2 separate regions of the Homo sapiens genome follow, and region 1 is linked to region 2. The links are contacts of gene promoters, found by promoter capture Hi-C in blood cells and fetal thymus (Javierre and others, 2016). All regions are on one chromosome and are shown on one strand. The core of a region is centred on a gene start or on the middle of the fragment in contact, and the rest is flanking DNA. Distances in the headings are between cores, read along the strand shown.

What was found. Contacts are between HindIII fragments. The CHiCAGO score rates a contact against its expected background, and 5 or more counts as called.
Region 1: a fragment that was not itself captured here is called in contact with the fragment with the promoter of NEK5 in region 2 in 1 of 17 cell types (naive B cells); the score reaches 6.8 in naive B cells.

Annotation. Positions count from the first base shown.
Region 1 is chr13:51,118,609-51,125,158 of GRCh38, reverse strand. It overlaps a transcript of C13orf42 not described here. Among named protein-coding and RNA genes, the nearest start is that of C13orf42, 11 kb to the right of the region's middle. The HindIII fragment of the contact is 741 bases long and covers 1,820-2,560 here.
Region 2 is chr13:52,127,784-52,132,689 of GRCh38, reverse strand. It overlaps NEK5 (NIMA related kinase 5), which reads left to right and starts at 3,617. Exons shown (of 24, transcript NM_001365552.1): 1 at 3,617-3,661. It overlaps LOC101929657 (a long non-coding RNA gene), which reads right to left and starts at 3,795. Exons shown (of 2, transcript NR_110306.1): 1 at 633-3,795; 2 at 1-232. It overlaps NEK3 (NIMA related kinase 3), which reads left to right. Exons shown (of 16, transcript NM_002498.3): 16 at 1-43. RefSeq lists an enhancer at 1-339. The HindIII fragment of the contact is 11,669 bases long and covers 776-4,906 here.

The DNA.
Region 1 (6,550 bases), core at 941-3,440, 1.0 Mb after region 2:
CCTTCGCCCAGCAGAGAGGCTGTTAATGAATGGAGAGGCAAGGCAGGCTGCTAGCAGGTACTGTACCTTTAGAGCTCTGAAACGATCTTTAGGCCCTTTTTCCAGCTAAGACTTGAGAAGAAAAACACTAGTAAACCTTACATAGAGGGCTTGCTTACAGAGTAAATGTAACAAGTTTCTTTGATGTGTGACCAAAAGGAAAAAAAAATTCATTTAACCCTCAGAAAAAATAAAGGAAGACCCTGCATTAAAGCCACTCTGTGTGTTATGGGGACAACGAGGTTTAATTTAAGAATTAGGGTTTGTATGAAGGAACAAGAGCTGGGGGAGTGAAACCAGCTGGAAGGTCATGGAAGCAGCTGGAAGGTCAGACCGAATACCTAAGTGGGTGGTTCTCTAACATTTGCCAGGAAACTGCTGCGAAAATTTTCAAGAAACTCTGGAAAACCTCCTACCAAACCTGGTGCTTGATAAGAAGCCTAGATGCCACTGTGAACCTTGTGTCTGCTGTGGCCCCCATGACCTGAGGAGGATTGCCTCTCTTCACTGTCTTCCAAAGCTTAGGCAAATTTCTCTCATTGGAAAATTGAGCTCAACCTGTAAAAGGCAGGAGATTCCAGGAAAGGAAGATTCAGTGAGAAGCAGATGAAAGTGATGAAAAGCTGACAACTAACAACGTAGCACAACCTGAAAGCACCTAAATTCCTACATTTACCTCCTCATTATGTAACCGCCCAGTGGATTCACCTTGTCCGCAGCCTAGACAGCCGATTTATCAAGACAGGGGAATTGCAATAGAGAGATAGTAATTCACACAGAGCTGGCTGTGCAGGAGACCTGAGTTTTATTATTACTCAAATCAGTCTCCCCGGAAACTTGGGGATCAGGGTTTTTAAGGATAATTTGGTGGGTCGGCCAGTGAATCTGGAGTGCTGATTGGTTGGCCCGGGGATGAAATTGTAGGGAGTCGAAGCTGTTCTCTTATACTGAGTCAGTTCCTGGGTGGGGCCACAGAACTGGTTGGCAGGTTCAGGTGGGGTTATTCAGTTGTTAGAAATGCAAAAACTGGAAAAGACATCTCAAAAGGTGGATCCTAGGTTCACAATAGTGATGTTACCTTCAAGAGTAAGTGGGGAAGTTGCAAATCTTATAACCTCCGGAATAATGGCTGGTAATATTTAGAATTCCAGCCCCTCTTATTCTAACTTGGTGGCTGGTAGCTTTTCATTTGTTTTACGGGGACAGTTTAGCTTTAAACTATAAACTAAATTCCTTCCGAAGGCTAGTTCAGACTACGCCCAGGGATGAACAAGGACTGTTTAGAGGTTAGAAGCAAGATGGGCTCAGTTAAGTCTGATATCTTTCACTGTCATAATTTTCTCAGTTATAGTTTTGCAAAGGTGGTTTCCATTATGTGGGACAAATTATTCATTCATGCGCTCAATAAATAGTAAGTACTTGAGGTGTGTCAGGAATTGGGTTAGGTGATAGAGGCAGATTGAACTATGTAGAAGAATTTATTCCTGCCCCATGTGAGCTGACATTGAACTAAAAGGGAGAAATGGTTTGAATACACAAACCGTGATGATGCACAGGCATTTTTAGGGCTGTTCACAAATATTCTGGCTCTCCTCCAGGCACATGCTAAGATTGTATTTCCCCACCTGCTTTGAAATTTGAAGAGACCATATGACTTGCTTTGGTCCACAAAGTGTGAGCAGAAGTGATGTGTGTAATTTGCATTTGGAAGGTTTAGGAATGATCCATGATTCACCATGCTGTCTTCCCCCTGCCATGATCAATCTGTTGAGATGAAGCTTGGGTCAGCCTTAGTCCCAAGAGGCTAAGCAGAGCCCCCAGCTGATCTGCAATAGATATGCAATATGATTGAGAAAGAAATCTGTGTAATAAGCCAATAAGAGTTTGGAGTTATTTGTTGTCACAGCAAAAGTAGCCCATCCTGACCGACCTGTAACAAGAGTGAGAACCATGAGCAGTGCTAGGGTCCCTGGGGGAGGGGAGGAACTTTTTTCAGATTGCCTTGTACGTTGGTTAATCATTCACCACGTGTGGTTTTGGCTTAGCTTGCTCTCTGGATAAGATCAAAGAAAACGGATTAGCTAGGGAGATACAGCAGTGGGCAAAACAGACCACAAGTATCAATCCATCTTTCTAATGCTATCAGAACATCTCCTTTCTCCCCCATTGTTTTCAGCATGCACTGCCCCCGCCTCTTGGTTTGACTTTAGATGACGGTGAAGTGATCACCACAAGATTGGTGAGGATAGAATAACAGTGGGTGTTTTAAAAATTGTTTCTAACATGATAATCAGAAACAAGAACAGAACTGAAGAAAAGAAATAATCAGAATAGAGATCCACAAGGCCCTGAGGATTTACCATCCAATTTTAAGACTGGTCACAGGTTATTTCAGGGGAATTGATAAGGCTCTAGCTTGATCTATCAGTCAAATCTACTTGTAGTGGGCAGGAATTCAAGCACAAAACAGCTGAGCTAGCACTTTATAACAAGATGACGGTTTAAAAAAATTTTTTAAGCTTATAAGTGCTTTCTTTTCTCTTTCTTTCTTTTCCTTTTTTTCTTTCTTTTTTTTTTTTTTCTTTTTGGAACAGTTCTTGCTCTGTCGCCCAGGCTGGAGTGCAGTGGCGCAATCTTGGTTTACTGCAACCTCCGCCTCCTGAGTTCAAGCAATTCTCCTGCTTCAGCCTCCTGAGTAGCTGGGATTACAGGCATGCACCATGATACCTGGCTAGTTTTTGTATTTTTGGTAGAGACAGGGTTTCACCATGTTGGCCAGGGTGGTCTCAAACTCCTGACCTCAAGTGATCCACCTGCCTCGGCCTCCCAAAGTGCTGGGATTACAGGCGTGAGCCACTGTGCCCAGCCCAATGCTTTCTTTTCTAATCATATATTCTGGTCATATATATTTCTGATATATATTCTTTATATATGTAAATATATATTTTCAGCATTTACATTATACCGTATTTACTATTTGTATATTTTCAACCTTCCTTTTTCTCTTAATATACTAAAAATATTTGTGTATTTAAATATTCTTTTTCTACATGACTTCAAAACAACACATTTGTGTACTTAATACATGAAATATTTATTATACAGACACGTAAAAGGGAATGTATTGTATATACTGTTTTACATTGGACTTTTTCCGCTTATTACATTGTGAATATCTTTTTACATTATTAATTATTGCTCTAAGACATCATTTTTAGTAACTGCTGTGTTCCATTATACAAGTGTAATTTATTTAGCTAATTCTCAGCTGTAGAAAATTTATGAGGCCAGTTGCGGTGGCTCACGCCCGTAATTCCAGCACTTTGGGAGGCCGAGGCGGGTGGATCACAAGGTCAGGAGTTTGAAACCAGCCTGGCCAACATGGTGAAACCCCGTCTCTACTAAAAATACAAAAAATTAGCCAGGCGTGGTGGCACTTGCCTGTAATCCCAGCTACTCGGGAGCCTGAGGCAGGAGAATCACTTGAACCCGGGAGGTGGAGGTTGCAGTGAGCCGAGACCACGCCACTGCACTCCAGCCTGGGCAGCAGAGTGAGACTCTGTCTCAAAAAAAAAAAAAAAGAAAATTTTTTTCAGGCTAGAGTACTAGAAGTGGAATAGCCAAATCAAAGTGAATGCACAATTTTAAGGATTTTGATATGTATTTCCAAAATACCCCATACAAAAGTTATTCCAATAGATGCTGTCACTAATAGCATATTAGAGTAACTTTCCCTGAAACTTTCCCCACCCTTGCAACCCCAGGTATCATTTTTCTCAAGGTCTGGTCTAACAAGTATTAAATGTGGTTTGGTTTTAATTTAAATGTCTTTGGTCGCCAGTGAGGTATGCAGTTTGGAATGATTCCACACTTCCCATGGCACCGTTCTAGGTCTCTGGGCTCTGATCTGCTTGGTGAATCCTTCGCAGTGTTCCTCAGGACAGCTGCGCGCCCTTCTGAGTGCAGGAGGGCAACTCTATCCTGCTCTCAACCCTGGGCTCAGCTACCAACCACTACAGCTTGTGTGGCTGGAGAACCCTTAAAACCCAACCACCAGGGGGCAGAAGAGGTCAGGGTTTATTATGACGGGCATTTATTTGTTTATTGAGACGGAGTCTCGCTCAGTCGCCCAGACTGGAGTGCAGTGGCGTGATCTCAGCTCACTGCAACCTCTGCCTCCCAGGTTCAAGAGATTCTCCTGCCTCAGCCTCTCGAGTAGCTGGGATTACAGGCACGTGTCACCATGCTTGGCTAATTTTTGTATTTTTAGTAGAGACAGGGTTTCACCATGTTGGCCAGGCTGGTCTTGAACCCCTGACCTCAAGTGATGCACCTGCCTCAGCCTCCCAAAGTGCTGGGATTACAGGTGTGAGCCACCTCACCTATGACGGGCATTTTACTGAAGAAGAAACCAAAGGCTTTCCCAAAATCACACAGCAATGACTGACAGAACCGAAAATAGAACCCAGGTCTTCTAACTCCACATCTGGTGCCTTTTCAGGACCTCTGAAGTTAGAGACAAATAAAGAAGGTGGGAAGTGGTGGAAACAGTCTCAAGGCATTTCTCCTTTGACAGATATTCAGATAACCATTTTTTATGATCATAAAAAGGTTGAATCTCATTTAACACATATTTATAAAGCTCCCACTACATATCTAGAAGGGCAATGTGGATACAGCAGGGAGCAAGAGCATTCACAATTCCTGCCCCGGTGGAGCTTCTCATAATGCGGCAAGGATACCCGCTTCCAGTGACACAGCTTCTGCGTTCACATCTTGGCTCTATCACACAATAGATATAGGAGGCCGGGCACATCACTTAAAAAGGTCCACTTCTAAATGTCCCCATCTCTGTGGTGGGGACAATAATCATACCTGATAGGTAAAGTTATAGGATTCAGTGAGATGACACATGTAAAAGCCCAGCATACGTAGTCAGTGCTTGCAAATATTAACCATGATTATTACTGTAATTCTCAAGTGGAACCTCTACAGATGAAACCATTTACATTATTAGTAACAATGGCAACTATTATTGAGTGACCATTTATTGAGTGCCTATAAATCAGCGCGGACTTCAATACTTTCCTAAACTTCCTTGATGGTAATAATCCTCTGGGATGCTTTCTTTTTTTTTTAAAAGGAAAAATTCCCAGATTCTCCGATCTCTTTGAGTCGGGAGTTCCTCTAGAGGGCCTTGGGAATCTATTTGTTTTTAAATTTATCATTTTAGCCATTTTTAAATGTACAATTTAGTGGCGTTAAGTACATTCACACTGTGCAGCCACCACCATCCGCCTCCAGAACTCTTTTCATCTTCCCAAACTGAAACTCTGTCCAGATCAAGCACTAACTTCCCATTTTCTCCTCTCCTCTGCCCTTGGCAACCACCATTCTTTCTGTCTCTATGAATTTCATTACTCTGGGCACCTCATATAAGTGAAATCATACAGTATTTGTCTTTTTGTGTCTGTCTTATTTCACGTCGCATCATGTCTTCAAGGCTTATCCATGCTGTAGGGTGTGTCAGAATTTCCTTCCCTTTTAAGGCTGGGTGCTATTTCATGGCAGGTATAGACCACCTTTGGTTATCTATGCATCTGTTGATGGGCATTTGGGTTGCTTCCACCTCTTGGCGATTTCCCCTCTCACTCTGTACGCCATGGCAGCAGGAAAGCATTCAATGCTTTTCTGGCTCTGCTAGAGACAAGCTGATCAGACAAACGAGGACTCTTTTTGAGCCATTCACACCCACTGATATCACCTGTGAATTCACCAGGTTTAGTGAAGGTTACTAAATTCCAAACAAACACTCTGTTCCCAGTGCACCCAGGTGTTATTGACTGAACCAGTTCTGAAACCTCTCATTTCCTCTTGATGACTTGAGGATCTGCAGCTCACTCCATGCTTGCAGCCACAGGGCGTGCCATACACCTGGGGATACTGTACACCTGGGCATACTGTACACCCAGGCATACTGTACACCTGGGCATGCCATACGCCTGGGCACACCATACACCAGGGCATGCCATACACCTGGGCACACCATACACCAGGGCATGCCATATGCCTGAGCACACTGTAGACCTGGGCATACTGTACTCTTGGGCATGCCGTACACCTGGGCACACTGTACACCAGGGCATGCTGTATGCCTGGGCACACCATACACCAGAGCATGCCATACACTTGGGCACACAGTACACCTGGGCATACTGTACCCTTGGGCATGCCACACACCTAGGCATGCTGTATTCCTGGGCATACTATACCCCTGGGCATACTGTATGCCCAAGCATGCAAATAAGGCCAGGTTGGCTGTGTCACTAGCACCCTAGGCTACAAGATCATCTATTTGGGGTGCTATTCATAATTATGCCATATACAAGTAGTAGACAAACTGGATGTATGGTCACTCTATGTGCAGGGATTGTTTCACCTAAATATGTTCTGAGTTCTTGCTGCTGCCTGAAGAAGAGTCACCACTTCTCATCGATGAAAGCAGATAGCC
Region 2 (4,906 bases), core at 2,368-4,867:
TACATTTCCTAAAGGTTTGAGAATTAAATATATTTAATTATGATTTAGTAATGTGTGCAGTTTTTCAATATGACCTGATTCTGAGTAGTTTGAAGATCATTCCAATGATCTTCACCAACTACCAGCTGTCCTTAAATACAGTCCCTCATAGGATGCACAAAAGAGCCTGGGTTGGAGGGTCAGCCCTGGGAAGCTTGGGGTGGTCTGCAGATCTTGTCAGAAGATGGCAGTCCTGTAGATGAGGAAGGAAGAGGCCAGAGGTGAGGAGCAGTTAATGGTAAATATCAGAAACTAGAGAGTGATGTGGAACGAATAGGAGGAGGCATGGCGCACACGTGCTGGGTCCTGTCGTGTGTGAACCTCATCTAATAGTGTGCACTTCAGTGAGATGAGAATATTTCACTAAAGAAACAGGCTTCGCTCAACACCTCTCAAAGAGACGTGAGCCAGCCAAATACAGGGAACGGTGCTAAAGTGAAGAGTAGGGGGAAAATACATTTAGGGTCATTAACAAGCAGTTGCTGAAATCTGGAATATATACATCTTTTAAAGATTTAACAGTTTTTAAATCTTAACATGTAAAACCTGTGGTATAGAACCAACCCTCCACCTCACACATACGCTGTATTTACATTTAGATATCTTTCATCTCCAGTGGTCTCTGGCAGTCTCTAAATCTTTCCTTGTTTTTCGGGACCTTGACATTTTTGAGTACTGCTTAGGTATTTTGTAGACTGTTGCTCAATTTGGGTTTGTCTCACAATTGGACTAAGCTTATGGATTTTGGGGAAAATCACAAAGGTGAAGTGCCCTTCTCATCACATCATTTCAGGGAGCATCAGCATGACTTCTTCCTGGTGTCGTTCACCTTGATCACTTGATGAAGGCAGTGTCTGCCAGGCTCTTCACTATCAACTTCATAATTTTCCATGTTCATGCTGTGTTCACTATAAGTGAGTCACACACTCCAGCTCATAGTCAAATGCAAAGGAATTAATCTCCACCTCTGGGGGTGGGAGTATAATCCAATAATAAGTCGTTTGTTTTCTTGCTTAAATTGTTCTAGCTTTGGCCGTTGGGAATTGTTTCAGGTCACCTCCTGTGTCCCTTTGAGGTGCGCTGGTTCTTTTGGAGCACTTCCTTTCTGGCACTACAAGATGGTCCAGACTCATCTTTATCTTCTCTGCCCCAGCCCCAAAATCATCCATTTCAACAAGGTTCCCACTGGTTTAGAAACCAAGATCTGGGTGCTGGGTGTGCTTATTGCTCCTGGGGTGTCACTGCTTCTAGGCCCTCTCAGCAGACAGAGCTAGGAAGTATATATGTGTATACTAACCTGTATACACTGTATAATTGTATATCCATCCAGACATCTCTACAGTTATTTCTGTATCTCTCCATCTGTACATACATTAAATTAAGCATGGGTCCATACTGATGTCTCCAACTAACCCAGTACTACAAGGTTCATTCTAGCCTTCTTCTCACGCTTTTCTGTAACTTCTCTCCCTGACAATGAGAAAACTGGCTTGTACCATCCGCCATCTGCTTAGCTGTTCAATCCTAGTCTATTTGTAAAGCAGTTTCCAAATCATTAACCCATACCCCTGGGAGAAACAAATTTACCAACTAAGGTACAGAGTTTATGTATCTTTCCTATTGTCTCATAGTTTCCAGTCAAATACCATTTCCCAAAATTACTTGGGTTAGCTCTTTGAAATTAGCTTACTACTCTCTTGAAGATTTTTCAAGTTAAAGCAGGCATGGATAGTTTTAAGGACATTTCCAGGTACTCAGCTTCCATATATACTGTATTCCATACCTCTTAGTCATCTTCAATCTTGGCATTGCCCAAGGGCATAAACATTTCAAAACCATCAAACAAAAAAAACTTGAAATTATGTACAGTTACTGAGAGACTGGATAAGTATTGGATAATAAATCCTTTTCAAAATCAGAATGGCTTATGGGGTTTTGCTTTTAATAAAATTTCAGAAGACTAATGGAATTATCAGTTCATGATTATAAACCAGTTTTGGTGACAGATTACTATATGATTCTTGAGATACAACTAGACAAAAATTGAGGGACACTTTTAACAAAACTTTTCATTCCTATGTACTTATTTCTCAGCACTTACAGCCTTAAGAAAATGGAAGAGAATCAGTGTTAAACTTCATTGTAGCAAGAAGTTAGCATTCATCTATGGATACAGGAACTAACGGTGCATGGGAAGCCCATCCAGGTCTTAAAGAGATGAATTTTCAATACAATTTTATTTTTTATATTTAATAATTATCAGTATTGTGATACATTTTATTGTGATCAATTGTGTAGTACTAGTAATTTTAACAATTTAATCCAGAAAAACTAAAATTCTATGAGCAGGAAATATAAATTTCCATTTCTGTACTTCTTTCAGCAGTATGATAGGATGATCAATAAGACTTTCAAGTATGAAAAAGATAACGGGTAAAATTCTATCAGGAAAGTAGAATGAAGATATGATTTAATGAAGCATGTCTAAGAATTCTAGGGAAGAAATTTGGGTGTGGTCACTGACACGTGTAATTAAACAAAAACAAGTAGATCATATACCTACTAATATTTTGAGGGAATTTCACTGCCAAAGAAACTAACATTGGATATTCCAACTGCTAAACAACTTTTGGACTCCTGCTACGGGCTGCATTCACCCCCGCCGCGGCCACCCCCAATTCACACACTGAAATCTAACACCAATAACTAATAATGAGACTATATTCGGAGACAGAGACTTTAAAGATGCAATTAGATCAAAATGAGGCCTTTAGTTCAGCCCTAATCCAACTTGACTAGAGTGCTTACAAGAAGAAGAAATTTTTTGTGGCAGGGACGGGGAGGGGGCGGCGGAGAGATGATTTTAAGAAGGAAGAGTAATGATGTAAACTTAGGATTTTTAAGAGTTTTTTGTGGGTTTTTTTTGTGTGTGTGTGTGAGGTGGACGATGGAGGGTACCATATTACTGTAGTGTTTCGATTCAGTTGGATATATTTAACTTGCGTCACTATTTACAATTGCTGAAAATTACATTTTTTTCAACTACTTAAACATTTTAGACAGCAGCTTGATGTGCAAATCCAGAATGGGGCAGGGTGGGATGAGCACTGGGCGTGAGTGCAGACGCTTGGGCAGCGCCGGTTTCGTTAGAAAGTCCCTTGGCAGGCCGCCGCTGTGGCCCAAAGAGTAGGAAGCCGTTCCAGTCTCACGTCCACCTTTTGGCAATATTTGAGACCTTGTACAAGAAACACTCTTCCTGTATCAGTTTAGCTCATTTGTAAAACTGGGAGACTACTGCCTTGACGGGTTGTAAAGAAAAGAGAGAACGTTTGCGAAGCGTCTGGTGCACCTTAAGCAAGAGCGGGGAGCGCTACTGTAGACTGCAAAGCAAAGGAATCCCGACCCAAGGCAACGGGACGGTTGCGGGGTGACTCTGCCGGGTCTCCAAACTCCCTGGCGCCTGACCCTGCCTCGAGGTGGACTGGTCCCCAGGCCATTCCAGACCCGCGCCCCGCCCGCGTTTCCTTGCGCGGCTCCGCCCCGGCCGCAGGGAGGCGCAGCGGCCCCGGGAACCCGGATCCTTCCGGGACGCTTCGTTGGCCCCGCGGAGCCGGCGGAGCAGGTACGCTTGCAGGGGCCGCCCTTAGTTCTTGCCCGGAGCCGCCACAGGGCTTCGGGAGCTCGGCAGGGTGGGGGAAAGGGATGGAGTTTCGGCCTGGGGCGGCGGGGGCGGCCCAGAAAAGGCCTAGCGTCCTGGGCTGTGTGGGTGTAGCGTCCAGGGCGCGTCGGTCTCTATGGCAACGCTCCACACGCGGAGGTCGGGTACGGGTAAGCGTCTTGCCACTCACCCGCGGCCGCTTCCAGGGGCGGCCCTAGGGGAGAAGGAATTTTCCTAATTTGGGGGCTTCCACCCTTTGGTGCCACTTGGGCGGGAGGGTCGCGGGCCCTCAGTTCCCGGCGAGTCACCCCCGGCCCCAAGTCCGTATGCGTCTCTCTCAGAACCCGATCCTCCGGTGTCTGCAGCCTCTCCTGGCTGCGGAGCTGGTTCCCAGCCCCCTGCAACCCAGTACCGACTTCCCACCCTGACGTAAAATTATTCGAAAACAAGCCCCCTGCTCACCCCATTAACAACAACAACAAAACTGTATTATGCCCTAACTGTAGCATAAAGAGGAAATAGAAGGAAAGCAATAAGTAAGAAAGTACATATTTCAATCTGAAAATGCTTGGCACTACTACCCTTGGAAAATGTAGAGAAGTAGCCAGTAGCCGCGCCTGGGGAGTCGCCTGAACGTGACGGCAGCAAATGCAGATTGTTGGGTCTCCGGGACCAGGAGCAGCGTGGCCAGTGAAGCGCGTGGTTTTCCCAAATGGTGAACAATTCTTGGTAAACCTCCAAACCGAAGTGCAATCAAGCCTTGATTTACATGTAGTTGCATTCCTCGAAAAAAAAAAGAAGTGTTCATTAAAACTGCAAAAATACTTAGCATTTCGATGTAAAATAGAGTTTGGTTCTAGCCACAAACGGATTTTTCCACGCACAGGAATGTATAGGAAGACTCTCCAAGATTGTAGGGCCGCGGGGTAATCCTTTATTGTGCGGGACTGTCTCTCGAATCGCAGAATCCTACCATCTCAGGCCCCAACCACCTGTAAACCTCATGCCTCTGAATCTTGGGGAAACAGCTTCCCCACCCCCATATATTTCCAGAATTCCCCCTAGGGGGCAGTACGTCCCCACTAAGAAAGGCTGAACTATAAAAGTGCACAAGCCTAAGGACATTCCTGCTTTATAAAGGTGCGAAACACCGGATATAGTATCTTTCATTCTCAGAACAAACTTGCAAAACAGGTATTGTTATTCCAT